Regions from separate parts of the Homo sapiens genome. Here all the other regions are linked to region 1. Evidence: promoter capture Hi-C in 16 types of primary human blood cells and fetal thymus (Javierre and others, 2016). All regions are on one chromosome and are shown on one strand. Each heading gives the region's core, a stretch centred on a gene start or on the middle of the fragment in contact. The rest is flanking DNA. Distances are from core to core; before and after follow the strand shown.

What was found. Contacts are between HindIII fragments. The CHiCAGO score rates a contact against its expected background, and 5 or more counts as called.
Region 2: a fragment that was not itself captured here is called in contact with the fragment with the promoter of LPP-AS2 in region 1 in 5 of 17 cell types (neutrophils, M1 macrophages, activated CD4 T cells and 2 more); the score reaches 8.8 in neutrophils.
Region 3: a fragment that was not itself captured here is called in contact with the fragment with the promoter of LPP-AS2 in region 1 in 1 of 17 cell types (neutrophils); the score reaches 8.6 in neutrophils.
Region 4: a fragment that was not itself captured here is called in contact with the fragment with the promoter of LPP-AS2 in region 1 in 1 of 17 cell types (neutrophils); the score reaches 8.8 in neutrophils.
Region 5: a fragment that was not itself captured here is called in contact with the fragment with the promoter of LPP-AS2 in region 1 in 1 of 17 cell types (neutrophils); the score reaches 6.1 in neutrophils.

Annotation. Positions count from the first base shown.
Region 1 is chr3:188,152,443-188,155,534 of GRCh38, reverse strand. LPP-AS2 (LPP antisense RNA 2) reads left to right here and starts at 1,447. Exons shown (of 1, transcript NR_036497.1): 1 at 1,447-3,092. LPP (LIM domain containing preferred translocation partner in lipoma) reads right to left here and starts at 1,378. Exons shown (of 12, transcript NM_001375462.1): 1 at 1,283-1,378. RefSeq lists enhancers at 1-143, 1,943-2,843 and a silencer at 1,171-1,510. The HindIII fragment of the contact is 6,292 bases long and covers 1-2,573 here.
Region 2 is chr3:187,820,397-187,823,488 of GRCh38, reverse strand. No RefSeq gene overlaps it. Among named protein-coding and RNA genes, the nearest start is that of BCL6, 76 kb to the right of the region's middle. The HindIII fragment of the contact is 2,084 bases long and covers 383-2,466 here.
Region 3 is chr3:187,839,247-187,842,338 of GRCh38, reverse strand. All of the region lies in intron 2 of LOC105374264 (a long non-coding RNA gene), which reads left to right. Among named protein-coding and RNA genes, the nearest start is that of BCL6, 95 kb to the right of the region's middle. The HindIII fragment of the contact is 7,685 bases long and covers 1-3,092 here.
Region 4 is chr3:187,874,802-187,877,893 of GRCh38, reverse strand. It overlaps LOC105374264 (a long non-coding RNA gene), which reads left to right. Exons shown (of 3, transcript XR_924813.3): 2 at 772-887. Among named protein-coding and RNA genes, the nearest start is that of LINC01991, 100 kb to the left of the region's middle. The HindIII fragment of the contact is 8,295 bases long and covers 1-3,092 here.
Region 5 is chr3:187,896,045-187,899,136 of GRCh38, reverse strand. LOC124906315 (a long non-coding RNA gene) reads right to left here and starts at 1,514. Exons shown (of 3, transcript XR_007096212.1): 1 at 833-1,514; 2 at 1-692. The HindIII fragment of the contact is 2,010 bases long and covers 428-2,437 here.

The DNA.
Region 1 (3,092 bases), core at 198-2,697:
GAGGATGGGAGAGGGAGCTAGATGCTTTGTAAAGGTGCCTAGCCACACTTTCCCCTTCTTCACTTTAGGCTTTCTTAAAATGCACATGTGCAGGGAAAGGTAAGCCATTAAGTCATCAACACCTTAGTGAGAGTGAATTTTACAGGAAAGGCAAGAGATTTAGTAAAAGGGGAAGGAATGGAAAGAGAAAGGGGACTGGAAACACAGTTAAGTGAGTTTGGTACTAGCAAAAGCCCCAGAGAAGACCCTGAGTTCTCGCTAGTTGTTTTGTGTTGGGGGAGGGAAAGCAGTGGATCCCTTCTAAGGGAAGGGAAGCCAGAGAGATTTTTCAGTTCTCCTACGACTCCGAGGTTCCAAAGACTCTGCCCTGTCCAAGCACCCAGGCACAATTCCACTGATTAGCTCATCTCATATCACAACCTCCCCCATCCCCAACCCCTTGCCTCCAACTAAAGAATATTTATACTTTCATCTCCATTTCCCACACTACTTAGTCTTCTCTGGCCCACGGTTCCCTCGAAGAGATGTCTTCCTCCAAGCCGCTAGCTGGCTTCAGGAAACTCCTCAACCTCCAAAAACCCCATTCAGTGCAGGACTCTCCAAAAGGCCGTCCCAGGGACCAGAAAATCAAACCCCCTCCCTGGAACTTCCTTTAACTTTGTCCACGCCTTTGCTCCAGCACTTAGCATTTTCTACCCTAGGCCAGGTTTGACTCCCAGGTTCAACTGAGTTCCTTGAGGGCAACGTCCAATACACCCAGCACAGGGTCTGCCACACACAGGGTGCTAGAGAAATGCTTAGAGAAAGGGAACTTAAGTCCGGAGCCAACTATTTGAATTATGGTCTGGCCTCTAGTAAATAACTTCCGGGCGACCCTCCTTCTCTCTGGGCCTCAGCTGCCCCAACTGTAAAATGGGAGGACTTGGAGGACTGGGTCTAGGCCCTTTCCGCTGTGACAACTGTGATTCCGCGAAAGCTCTAAGCGGATGGGCGTGGCCCCGCCCCCTGGGCGCCCAGAAAAGTCCGGGCAGGGGGCGCGCAAGGCTCCAACCCCGCCTAGCCTGGGGTCGACGCTTTTGGAAAAACTCTGGGTCCCCCTCCCCCATGGCGTGCACCCCGTGATTGGGCCGCGGCCGGCACTTCCGCACAGCGGGCCAGGCCAGAGCAGGGCGCGCGCCCTGCGCTCTTGCCACCCCGGAGGCGCTCGCGCCGGGGGAGGGCTGGGGGTTCCCGAGGCGCCCGCGGGTGGAGGGTGAGGGGAAGGAAGGATTTGCAACAATACCTCAGGGAGGAGGCAGCCGGGGCAGCGGCGGTGGTGGTGGCGGCGGCGGCGGCGGCGGCGGCGGCTGGAGGCGGAGGCAGAGGCAGAGGAGGAGGTGCCCGGGCACTCCCCCTCCCATTGTCCCCAGCCCCGGACAGGCCCGGCCCCGCGCCCCACACTGGCCTCCTCGAGCGCGCCGCCCGCGCCCAGCGCCCCACGCCCCGCGCCCCGGGCCGTGCAGCCAGCCCTTACCTTGCAGCGCCCGGCTGTCTCCCGATCGCTAAAGCTACTTATCCCGGGAAAGCTCGCGCGGGACCCGGGAACGAACCCACAGACAAAAAGTGAAACTTCGGCAGGGCTGGAGCGGCTGCTGGTTGGTGCCTTTCCCCCTCCTTCCTCCCCACCGTCCCCACCCCCTCCCCTTGGTCTCCCGTGCGGTGCCCTGAGCGCTGGAGGCTGACGTCAGGGGCCTGAATTCCTGACTTTGCCTGCACGCATTTGTCCATGTAAGGTATGGGAAGGCGTGTGCCCGCGAAGCCGCCGCGCAGAGCTCGCCTGGCGGGGGAGGGGAAACCCGCAGCCGGCAGTGGCTTTGCCAAAAGGTGGGCGCACTGAGGGCATTGCATTTCCTGGGAGGAAGAGGAGGAGACGCGGGAATGCAGGGAGCTTGCAAAGGAGGAAGAGAAAGAGGGAGATGTGGAGACTTTGCCCCTGCTAGAGGAAGAGGAAGGAGACGTAGGAGGAAGCGGCCGCGTCAGGGGGCTCCTGGAAAATGGAAAAGCCTGCGTCTACTATTAAGGCGTCAAATTAGGGCACTGAGCTTGAGTGGAAGAGATCCAGCCATGAAATCCCCTTCCAAGATTTTCCTCGTGAGCCCCGCCCTGGATTCCCAGCAAGACTCAAAACTTACAAGGTGTCAGAGCTGGCAAAGACCAACTTCCAACCCGTCCGCTTGGCACGTGAGGAAACTGAAGCTCTCGGAAGAGAAATGACTTGTACAGGGTCGTCACTCAGCAGATCGAGGAGCGGGCCCAGGCGCTCTGCCTCCCACTTGGGTTCCCGCCTCCAGGAAGGGCCCTGGCTCCCTTTTAGCCCTGAGCCTTGAAGCAGGTTAGATGCCCGCGAGCTGTGCGGACCACCCAGTGATTTCTACTGCTCTTGGCCCAGAGCCAGTTCCTGGAAGGTCCTGGTTGACAGCGAGCCCTGAATATCAATGACAATCAGTTGCTTCAGGGCAACTTCCTCTGTCCTGTGCTCAAATAAATGAATCCCTGGAGTTTAACGTTTACTTCTGAGCCCCGCCCAGAAAGCTTGCTCTGTGCTTATAGCTTCAAAAAAGTCTGCGAACGAGATGAACTGGTTTGAATACAGACAAGCCTGTCATTGGAAGTTTTGAGTTGGATTTTTCTTTCCCCTCTGACATCTGTAAGGGTGAACGACGATGAGAACCACCACTTAACTGTGTTAGGGGATTATGACGCGCAGCAGCCATGGCCAGGAAAGCATTCCATACCCTGAGACTTCCTTTCCTTGCACTTCTCTCCTATTAATATCTAAAGTAATCCCTCACGTTAGCACATAATGAAAGCAGTCTCTCACCCGGCTATTGCATCTTCAGGTGAGTTAGATAGGACAGAGCGTAGTCCCCCCTTTACACCTCAGACAAAAACTTAAGAAACGTTACTCGCCCAACACAAAACAACTGACTGACCAAGCACCTGTCTTCCCCTCCTCCCATCCAGGTCTCCTGACTAATCCCTTCATCTTTCCATACCTGGCCCTGACCTCTAGCAGGACCTAATTCCATTCATAACTGTTGAGAGTACACCAT
Region 2 (3,092 bases), core at 175-2,674, 330 kb after region 1:
ATAATGGACTATAAGAAAAGCAGGGATGCCTATTTGCTCCTGCTCAAAATCTTCTTTTATTCACTGTGAGTTCCATAAGCACAGCCCACTCTTTCCCGCTCCCCATTCCCAAATCTCTCCTGATTAGGCCTGCAGTGACTAATGGTTGTTGTAGCAATGTCTGTGAATTTTTAGGGTGGAGTTGGAGGACCTCATTTCTGAGCACTTTTCCCCGTAATCACCTTCATAAGAACATGGTCCAGATGTGCTCTCTCAATATATTAAAAATTAAGCTCATTGTGTTCTCTCCAAACTTTCTCTTTGTCTGTAGTCTTTAGCTCTGTCCATAACATGCTCACCTGCCTGGATGCCTCAGTAAGCAAACCAGAGGCCATCCTAAGCTTCTCTCCTCCACTTTCTTTCTCTCCACCATCCAATCTGTACAACTAGTTGAGTCTTCCTCTGGGGTGGTTCTTCAGTATACGTCTATATCCTGACCCTAAGGCCACTTTCAAGTCCCCATTGGATCTCATTTGGGTTTCTGCAATACAGTCGCCTAACTAGTCTCCCTGTCTTTCATTTCCCACCAGTCTCTAAAATGAGGAGTATAAGGGGAGATTCTGCTGTGTACATAGCGGAAGGAGCAAGGCTGGGATCCATCTAAAATGCCATATAACTTTTTTCAAGATCAAGCAACAGACAATGCCAGTATGTGTGCTTGTTTCTGTCCCCTCTTACCAACTTCCTCCCCACCTTATTCTCATCACATTTCCTTCAAAGAAACCACACTGTTGAACAACAGTTGGGCATTCTAAAGCAGGACTCTATGCTTGGTCACAAAAAATGGCATCCTGGCCTAGGCCAGAAGGAAGATCATAGACAGCAACACCTAACAGGAAGTTGACATGACCTCAAAACACACATTACACTTACATGCTGGGCAGGGGCTGAGGCTCCCCAGGATGCTTCTAAGCAGAGGTACCCAAAGAGTTTTTCTGCAGCCCCCTTAGGGACACACAATCTGCTTTGAATCTTTGTTACTCTTTCTTTGTTCACAGTCCCCTGCTCTCTGAGGTGCTATTCCACAGCAGGGACCAAGTGATGAGAAAGGACCACTAGGTTTTGGAACCAGAGGCCCCTGGTGATCATGGTTAATTCTCTTCACCTCTTGGATCAGTTTTCTCACCTGTTAAGTGACATTCACCAAACTCTCCTCATGGGTCACATTGAGAACTGAGAATCCCATAACATATTGAGGTTGATGTCTGAGAGGGTGAGGACATTGGTTTTGTAGTCAGAAGAACTGGAGTTTAGGTCCAAGGTGTAATATTCACTATCTAATGTAGGCCCAGTCAGTGAGCCTCTCTAAACCTCTGCATCTTCATCTGTTAAATGTGATTAAGACTATGTCTCTCATACAGGGCTGTTGTCGGGGTCAGGTGAGACAATGCCTATGAATCATAAATTACAAGACATATCTAATGTTATAATATTATTCTAGTTGTTATGGAGTGCTTTCTAGCAGGTAGATGTTATATCATGGCAGAATTCTCTTTACAGCCTAACTCAGCATCTTGCTTGTTAGAGGTGCTCACTGTATATTTGTTGTCTGGGATTCATCACACTGAGTCTCTTGACCCTGCCTGCTTGGGGAGAGCATGCCTCCAGGGTATATGTGATGCAGAGTTGGAAAATCCCAGTGAAAGGGATCCTGGCTTGTCTGGAGGTGGCCTGTTGCTGTGGGTGGTCAAGACACCAAACAGTGGTGCAAGAACTACAAGACGAGAGAGATCCTTCCAGGTGGGGAGCACTTACAGAATACCTAGGAGCATTTTGGTTAGATTGCCTGTTTACATGTGAGGGTACTCACACATGTTTCTGGTGTGTGTGTATGTGTGTGTGCATGTGAAGAACAGAGAACATTGGTCTCTTTGACCCACCAACCTTCTGCAGCCAAGTCAGCCATGCCTTCAGTGGAGCTGGGGAAGAATAGAAAGAGTGCTGTACTGGCATCACAAAGCCTGTGCTTTATCCTGGCTCTGCTGTGCCTCTTCTAGGCAGAGCCTCAGTCGCATACTTTGTTTCCCTAAGTCTAACCTTCCTATTCTATAGAACCCAAATTGCCTCACAGATGTCTGCACAGATCACAGCAGGTGTTAAGGAGCAGAAAGCTCTCTGGGAAATGAGAGTCCCCTTCTTGCTACAGGGACACTGAAGCACAAGGAAGACCACTGTCCCCAAAAGCCAGGATCCATTTCTACCTGTAGCACCACTGGCAGCACCTGCTGTTGGAAAGATCTTCTTCCACAATTTCTGAGAACTGTGCTCTACCATGCCATTACAGGGACTCACTGAATACTAAAAACTCTCAATTGTTCATGGATCAAAAGTAAATGAATAGGACACTGTAACCTAAAGGCAAGGATAAGAAAACTGGGATTTAAATGTGCTGGGACTGTAAAAACAAAAATGCTAAGGAGTAAAGCTTTACCTAGTAATGAAAATAAACCAGGAGAAAGAGCACCACACCAGAGCTTAGAAAGCTTCTGTTCTTTCCTGCTCTCCCCAGTTGTTCCCTGAAGACCAGGCCATGTCTTCCTCATAATTGCATATTACTGTGCCTGGCACATACTAGAAAGCTATTTAAAATTATGTACTTGTTAGCATATTGACATGATAATATGTTCACAATGTATCATAGTGAGTTATAACAGCAGTATGGGCAGTGTGTATACATTTCTGTAAAGAAGACTGGAAACTGATAAATATCATTATGTCTGCATGATATAATTCAAAGTTATATTAGTTTTCTTCTTTTTAATTTCTAATCTGTAATTTTCTACATACAGCATATGTTAGTTGTGTAATCAAAGTTTAAAATGTACATATAAATATGTAACTAAACAGTTGATCCTTGAACAATGTGAGGATTAAGGGTGCTGATGCCCTGTGGTCAAAATTCCATGTATAACTTTTAACTCCCACAAAATTTAACTACTAGGAGCCTATTGTTGACAGAAAGCCTTACTGATGACATAAACGGTCAATTAACACACATTTTGTATGTTATATGTATTATATACTATATTCTTACAATAAAGTAAGCTAGATAC
Region 3 (3,092 bases), core at 302-2,801, 310 kb after region 1:
TCTATGCACATAACAAAACATCACATGTACCCTATAAATATGTACAAATATCACATATAAATAAACAAAAATTTTTAAGACAACCTTAAAAAAAAAGGCAGCCTGAAGTAACCTCATGTTAATTAATCAGTTATTTTTCTCCTGTTCTGTCTAAAAGGAACTAATAGTCTTTGTACTTTGCTCCTGCTTTCTTCAGCCCTTCTCTGTCTATAAAGCAAACCTCTTCTGCTCCGTTCACTGGGACACTTACTTCATTGTACGGAATGGAGTGTTGCCGGATTCTAGAATTGCAAATGAAGCCAACTGAGATCTTTAAACTAAATTTGTTGTAATTTTGTCTTTTGATAAAAGAGATGTAATCATCTAGAGTTCACTAAACCCAAGGATGTTTAAAATGAATGGAGAGTTGGCCACATGCCCGAGGTTCACCTATTCACCCAGGCATTACCATGCAGGCCATTTATTTCATAATTTCTCATGAGAAACTGTGGCAATAGCCAGAGATAACAGAGGTGGCAGATGAGTCAAGGAGGGAGGGTGACTCAGAGGCAGCCATCTCTGCCCCCTTCACTGGCATCCTTGAGCATGCCAGCGTCCATAGAGACTTAGACTTCTGTTTGGATATTGCTTTAAAGAGATTAAAGGATCTGCATTCCTGGAAGCCTCCTTCCCTTTTTCTGCCCTAGGCCCTTCAGACCATGCCTCAGTTCATTCCTTTGTAATGATATGAATTCACATTCCTTGGGAATTTTTTCTATGCCAGGAATTAACTCTGTCTTTTACGCGCATTATCTTTTTTTGTTTTGTTTTGTTTTGTTTTGTTTTGTTTTGTTTTGTTTTGTTTGAGACAGAGTCTCGCTCTGTCGCCTAGCCTGGAGTGCAGTGGCTCCATCTCGGCTCACTGCAAGCTCCACCTCCCGGGTTCAAGCCATTCTCTTGCCTCAGCCTCCCAAGTATCTGGGACTAGAGGTGCCTGCCACCACGCCCGGCTAATTTTTTGTATTTTTAGTAGAGATGGGGTTTCACCGTGTTAGCCAGGATGGTCTCAATCTCCTGACCTCAAGATCCGCCCGACTTGGCCTCCCAAAGTGCTGGGATTACATACACTCATTATCTTATTTACTTCTTACCAACTGCCACACAGATAGGATGATTATTCCCACTTTACAGATGAGGAACCTGTGGCAGAAAGAAAGTAGCCCATGGTGAGCGTAGTAGTGCCTGATAGAGCTGGAATTTGAAGATAGGTTGTCTGACTCTAGAGCCCATGCCTCCGGCTACTCTGGAAGTCTGCCTTCTGTAAACAGGTAAACTTGGAATGTCTGCATCACAAGACAAACCCCATAATCTCAAATAGCAAGTGAAAGCTGAGGATCCTTAGACTTGGCTTGTAATAGAGCAAGAAACCTAGAGGAGAGGAAATTAGTTAAGGAATATTTTTAGGCAGTCTTCTTCCTATGCAGGCAGCCACAGAAGGCCTGGCTGGTGGAATATATCTCACTAGTTCTTGCTGGTCGTTGGAGGAGGTCAGTGGTCCTTAGGAAGGAAGAGAAAACAACATTTCTGGAAGAGAAGGAGCCGAGCTGTTTAACAGCTCTCTTCCAGACTCCACTTCTCTGTATTCTTTGTGCAATGCTTTTTTTTTTTTTTCCCTGGGGGCGGGGTGGGGGGAGTTGTGATGAAATTTATTACCCTCAAACACAGCTTCGATCATGTCTCCTACTGCTCAAGAACCTCCAAATAACAGTTTCCCAGGACCTAAATCAGCAATCTTCAAACTTCTCTAAATATGTAACCCTAGTGCTGAAGAAGACTGGCATGTGCACCTCGATAGATTTATGGTACATGTGTGTGCCTGTGTGTAGAGCCATGCCAATAGATTATGCACTTTATAATAACAAATTAAAACTGGGAAGTATAACAGAAGATATGAACATGAAATGAAGACTATTTTCAAATGCATGCTATTCTTAATGACATCTTACTATCTTTTCTACTGTCTCAGGGCATAATCCACACCTTAGACAGGGCTCACCATTAATAATAGTGAATGTAAATCCATACTTGAAGCACTCTTCCTGAAAATTTGAATTTTTTTTGTTTACTGTTTGATATATATGATCAGGTCATCATTAGTTTTATCCTCCCCAAAATGTGGCTAAAGGAAAGCTAGGATAGGAGAAAAGTCAGCTCTGCCATTTTCTTGTCGTTTGCTTGTGTTCGTTATAAGTGCTATTCTCAATCCACAAGTTCTTTACAGAAATCTTTTAAAAATCACTGGTCTATTATGTGACTTTTTATTCAGTTAAATCTGTATAAAAATCCATAAACCCATGAAACTAGATAATTAAGAATGGTGTTGTGGGTACCTTGCAGACCCTCTAGGGCATAAAATTTCGACCCCTCCCTCAGAATAGCCTTAGTTGGACATGTGGCAAGAAACTGTGTGAACAGGGATCTAACAAGGATCCCATATTCAATCTGTATATGAAATAATAGTACTTTTAAACTTTTCCCTTTTAAAAAATAAAAGTAAACCTGAATGAAAATTCATTATGATTTGCACACCCTTCTGAGAGCGCACACTGCACTTTGGAAATCTTTGATCTACCGAGATAGGATTTCTTAGGCTTCCAATATCAGTGACCTACTTCTTTAGCCACACCTCCAATCATCACCGTACCTGCCCCATTCCGTGATGACCCACACACTCAACTGTACAAACACATAGGGCTAGTCATCTTCTCTGGAAACTTTCTTACCACAAGACCTGGCTCAGGCTGTTCCCTCTGCTTGGAACACCCTTGCTTTCCTTTGCTGCCTTTAGAAATTTTACTAAAAACAATGCCATCTAACATTTATTGACTTCTTACTACGTGCTGGACACTGTTGACAATTCTAGAAGGTAGGTGCTATTCTGAGAAAGCTGAGGAGTAGAAAACAGTTCAAAGCCAGTCAGCTGGGAAATGAGAAATCCAGAAAACAAGCCCATGAGAGCTGCTAATGCTCATACTGTATCACTGTAGGTGTGTTTTAATTTAATTTTAATATCAGAATAGATAAAGTCTTCACTAAACCCTTCCCCTCTTTCT
Region 4 (3,092 bases), core at 291-2,790, 280 kb after region 1:
ATTAGTGTATTTTTCTGCATTTTAAATAAAAATTTAATATATACATTTTTAGCTTTGTATAATGAAATAATTTTAAACTTGCAGAAGAGTTGCAAAAATAGTACAATGAATTCCATATACTCTTCCCCCATATTCCCCTAATGTTAACATTTTTACCACACTTGCTTTATCGTTCTTTTTCTACAAATATATAGAAGGGTTTTTTTTTTTTCTCTGAACTGTCTGTGAGTATGCTGTAGACATGATATCCTTTTACTCCTAAATACTTCAGGGTGTATTTCCTAAAAACAAGGATATTCTTTTAACACGACCACAGTATAATTAGCAAAATTATGAAGTTAACATTGATACAATATTAATGTTAATCTATACACTCTATTCAGATTTTGCCATTTTTTGCATTAAGGACCCTCTTGCTCTACTCTCATATGTTGGCATGGTTTGCCAATGATCTTTTCTCTGGTGAGGCCTTTTATTGTGATGGGATTCCCTTTACTTTCGGTGTCAAAATATCCTTTATTTGATGGGACAATAGTATTTTTATTTACTAGTATTTTTAAATGTTTATTACACAAAATTAAAGATGTCAATCTTATGTCATTTCTTCTTATTTTATTGATTCATTAGTCAAGTTTAAAACCACTGGCATAATTTCGCTAGTCCTCTATTGTTGGACATTTAAATTGTTTCCAGACTTTTAAAGTTCAAACACTGTGGCAGTAAGCAAACTTATATATTTATCTTTTCATTAACATGTGGTTATTTTTGTAGGATAAATCCAAGAAAATAGAGAAGATCAAAAGAAGATACATAGCTGAAAACACTTGAAGGTATAGACTACCTTGAAAGTCACGCAAGAACTGTTCTTCCTGCTTTCCATATCCAAGGTAAATACATTATCCCAATCAATCAGTTACCAGGGTTAAAAAATTGTCTGCAGATGTGAAAATACATATATATATATATGTAACCCCTGCCTCCCGACTTTCTCCAGAGATGAGCTTTTAATTGCTGTGCATTGGAGAACAATCAACTTTCCCTCTTCAGTGTCAGGGTGACACAAATTTCTGCAGGCCCAGACTCTTACTACAAATCCACTTATATCTCTTCCATCTTGGCTGCCAAAAGGGTGTTTTCCTCTGCACCTAGCATTTTGAGCAGCCTAAACAGGTCAGGGAAGCAGAGAATAGCTTCCATGTGCTCTAAATCAACTCTGAAGGTTCAGTAGAGAGGTCATCATCTTCAGCAAGTAATGTTACCTTTTCCTTTTATTTGGTTTTGGTGATGCTGTTTTCAAGGTATTTGATGAAAATATTTTCAAACTTTCTGTGTTTCCTTAGTCAGAAAACCCTTTGAAGGAGCCAATGGGAAGAGGTAAATGGCTCCAAGTTCATTTTCCAGGAAAGCAGACTTTATATCAAACAGCTGAGCACATTTCCCTTCACCACCTAGAGCTGGCTCATAATCTGAGTGAGATTTACACCTCCCTACACCAAACTGTGCATATACAATCCTAGAATTTTAGAGCTGAGTGGAGCTTTGGGCCAAACTGTGCATTTTACAGATGAGGGAAATTAGCCTCAAGAGTGGAAATGCCTCCCTCCAGGTCTCACGGTGAACCAAGGCCATGGCTCCAACAGGGTGCAGTCTCCTGGAGGTGCAGCGAATCTACTGGGATGCCAGGATGTTAGAACTTCTATTTATGTAATTTTTGAAATGATTATAGACTTCACAAGAAGCTGCCGAAAGAAAATGGAGAGGTCTCACTGCACCCTTCACCTACTTTTCCTCTGTGGTAGCATCTTGCATAACTGCAGTCTTGTTAAAACAAGGAAATGGACATCAGTACAAGCCAGAGTCTGTTTGTATTTCCCGTATTTATATGCACTTATTTGTGTGTGTGTGCTTCTATGCAACTTTTTTGCATGTGTAGAATTACATAACCACCAAGAATTGTTTATATTTTAAATTTAGAAAAGAAAGACAACTGAATGAATGTTTAATAAGTGCACGGGCACTACTGCCTATATTGCTGTTTGTATGTGCATTTGACAATTGCATGCTTTATGACACCTGAGAAATACCTCTCACCTGAGAAGAGGAGTTGAACCATGTGGCAATCTACATTTATTTTTTCTTGAACTCTCAGTGTATCGTCACATTCATCAGTTTACAAGAGCCCCATCAAGCGGATCTATGGATGATGTTATCCAGTTTCCATTAACCTAATCTTTCAAAATGGACTTCAGTGAGTTAAAATGATTTCTGCCTTAAAAAACCTCTGCAAGCAGGCCCGGCGCGGTGGCTCACGCCTGTAATCCCAGCACTTTGGGAGGCCGAGGCAGGTGGATCACAAGGTCAGGAGATCGAGACCATCCTGGCTAACATGGTGAAACTCCGTCTCTACTAAAAATCCAAAAAAAAAAAAATTAGCCAGTCGTGGTGGCGAATACCTGTAGTCCTAGCTACTCGGGAGGCTGAGGCAGGAGAATGGTGTGAACCCGGGAGGCGGAGCTTGCAGTGAGCTGAGATCGCGCCACTGCACTCCAGCCTGGGAGACACAGGGACACTCTGTCTCAAAAAAAAGAAGAAAAAGAAAACCTCTGCAAACAGTAGATTGAAGATAATACTTACGTTGCAAACACAACCAGACAACAAGGAAATGGCAGAGTTAACCCTTTCTACTCCTGGTAAAAACTCTGCCAGCCATGTGACAAGATAAAAGCAATTATCATCTAACCTGAGCTGACAGGAAGTCAACAAAGGACAAAATAACCTGTCCAGAAGATATTTTGAAAACGGATTTGTATCCATCGTTGTTTACAATGTAAATGTATATTTTGTCATGAGAAACGGAATGATGAGAGGAGGCCGCGATGATGAGTAAGACATCCTAAACATGACGACAAGCCTTTATAAAATTTTCAGCAATATTTAAAGTCATGTGATTCTCAATAAGAGACAAAATACATACCATTAAGGAAGCACTATTCCTTTTACAATGTAGCAGCAAACTAAAGCACAATCCTTTGCCCATTTATTATCTGTGACACGTTGGGTATAACATGGTGCCTTGCCCATAGGGCTGTTGG
Region 5 (3,092 bases), core at 183-2,682, 260 kb after region 1:
GACTCTACTTTTCCACACATACTATCTAATTTTACACTACTGTTCTATTTTTGTGGCTATTATCCCCATTTTACAGAAGAGGAATCTGGGGTTAGAGAGATTAGGTAACTTCAGAAGATCGTAGGAGAATGTGGTAAAGCTGGCTTTCCACACTGTGTCTAGTTCATCCCTTTACAAAAAAAGGAAAACGAGAGGAATTGATTGCCTCAGGATCATGCACTTACTTGGTGCCCCTTGAGTTCTAAAAGTCAGGCTCGCTGAATAATTTGTCTTGACCCCCCACTTTGAATCTACTCCCAAAGGGCTTTCCCCTGTTACTAGAGATGCCCCTGGCATGTGTCTCTGCTGCTGTAACCAGATTCAGCAGCAGAATGGAGAAAGGGGCATGTCCCAGTTGCTATTGAGGCATAACAAAGCAACCCAAGCTTAGTAGTTTAAACTGTGGGTTAGAAACTTAGGGGAGACTAGGCTGGGCATTTATGGCTCGGGAGCTCTCATGTGGTTGCAGACAGTGGCTGAAGCTGGAAGAGTTGGGGAGGAGGGTACTGGAGCAGTGGGAGGCAGGCCAGGCATCTTTCAGGGTCCCTCCACATAATCCTTCTTTATGGACCACTTTGGGTTTCCTCACAGCATGGCAGCCTCAGGGCAGTTGGACTGCTTCCTTGGCAGTTCAGTGGTCCACATGCTAGACCCTAGAGAACAAGGAGGCAATGGCATCATTTTCTTTATGACATACCTTCAGAGATCACACAACATCACTTACTCTATATTAGAATGATTGAAAGTGAGTCACAACCCCACCCAGATTCAGAGGAAGGAGACTTGACCTCACCTTTCGATGGGAGAAGGCCATGTAGTATGGCAGTCTGTCATGGCGAGAAAAGGCTGCAACAGTCGGAGCAAGATGAGGGATCTCAAACACTGAGAAGAGGGCCAGTTATTTGTGCACAAGAATATAAACACAGTCTCTTATTGACAGAGAAGCGCCTTTATGAAGAGAACCTGGAAGAACACTAGCAATACCCTATTACTTAGCAAAAGAGTGTATTAAGCTGACAGCGGGACAGGGGCATATTAGAGAAGGTCCCCAGATTATGTCTGGGAAGATCAATCAGTTTGGCAAAAAGCTCACAGAGCAGGGATTCCTGGAAGCTAGTAGAAAGAGTTCTATACAAATTGCCAGATTATATCTTACAGACTCAACCTTTTCTTTGAAAACATTAAAGAACTTAAGTTTTCTAAATCGCTTAGTTGCCTTAAAACATCCCTATGTTCCCCCCAACTTAGCCGAACGTTAATAGATTCTGGATATATATTAATGACCATTTCCATTCAATTATCCTTCGATAAAGCTATTTTAAAAAAATGAAAAGGAAATGCTATCTACCAGGTTGCTTTTTACTTTATTTGATGTATTTTTATTTCTTAAATGAGCATTTACCTTTACCAAGTTCTATTCTATGTTCTGGTATAAACAAACATGAGAGCACCCTGCCCTCCACAGGTGAGAGCCACCCACTCAATACAGAGGGGGCAGGGGGTACGGGGGGGGGAGCCATGTGTATCCCATGAATGAAATCCCAGGCCCACGTTTCTGAAGGTACCATGTGGAAGATAGTATTTAAATCCTGCTGTGTGTATGACTGATTTAAACCCCTGGTTCAAGTACATGGTTGTTAGTTGAGCGTTCTCCTCGGGTCATTCATTGTGTGAATTAAAAGAAACAAGGTATGTGAAGTACTTGGCACTTGGCATGTGGTGGGCATTCAGAAAAGTGGACTGCTTTTATTGGGTTGGGTTTTATTATAATTTAATATTAACATTGTGGTATGAAAAGTGACTTCCTGTTTACAAATCACTTTCTTATTTTTCATCTTATTTAATGATAGCAATCCAGTGATTCAGGCATTGTAATTATGGTCCCGACTTTACACACTGGGACATTGATAGTCAGGGAGGTCAAGTGACTTACCTGGGGTCTCTTAGCTAATACGCGGCAGAGCGGGGATTTGGAACCCAGCAATGACACCAAAGCGATCCCTTTTCACCTTACCATGCTGTTCCCTAAATTGACAGATGACCTTGTGCAAGCATTCCATAGCCCACCCTTCAATCTGGCCTTCAATTTCTACATCTGCAAAGTGAGAGGACTGAATTAAATTATGTTTGAGGCCCCATCCAGGTTCCAGCGACTCTGATTAAAAGCGTATGTTCAAGCACAGACCCTGCTTGCTGCAGAGCTCCTTGTGAAGATCCGAGCCCGGCTCCAGAGGGGGCTAGAGCCTGGACCTGTGCCCAAATCACAGGCCTGGCTTGGCGTCCATCACTGTCTTTGACTGCCAAAGGACAGAATTCTCTAGAGGACCTAACTCCAATCTGGCCAACTTCTGATGGCCTAAATTATCCTCTGACCTCGAACTTTTGATCATCTGAAGCTTATTTTAAAAATGGCTTAGAAATAGCCATTACATCTCTCTGGAGACCCCTTCCTTTCTTACCCTCATTACGTTCCTCCAACAACAGGGAAGGGAAACTGCGAGACAGGCAATCTGTATGTAATTTTTGTCTCTACTGCTGCCTTTCTGTGTGACCCTGGGCAAGTCATGTCATAAACAGAGGCTTATCAATAAGGGTTATCCTTTCTTAAGGATCTAGGAAGCCATGTGGCTTCCCCTTCAGAGAGAATTGGAAGACCTAGTACACATGACTTCAAGGTAAGAAAACCATCAGATTTTCTGTAACAATTAGAAAAATCATTCAGGGCTAGTCTACTTTAATTGCCCTTCTTTAAAAACAGTTTTTCTACTGTTTTGAAAAGAAAACAGGTGAGGAAAATGCTTTCTGTATCTGGCCCCAAGAGAGATTTTAAGTCTTTTTTTTTTTTTTTCTTTTTCTTTTCTGTTTTTCTAATATGGTTTTGCCTTTTTTTTTTATTATACTCTACATGTGCACATTGTGCAGGTTAGTTACATATGTATACATGTGCCATGCTGGTGCATTACACCCACTAACTCGTCATCTAGCATTAGGTATATCTCCCAATGCTATCCCTCCCCCCTCCCCTCACCCCACAACAGTCCCCAGAGTGTGAT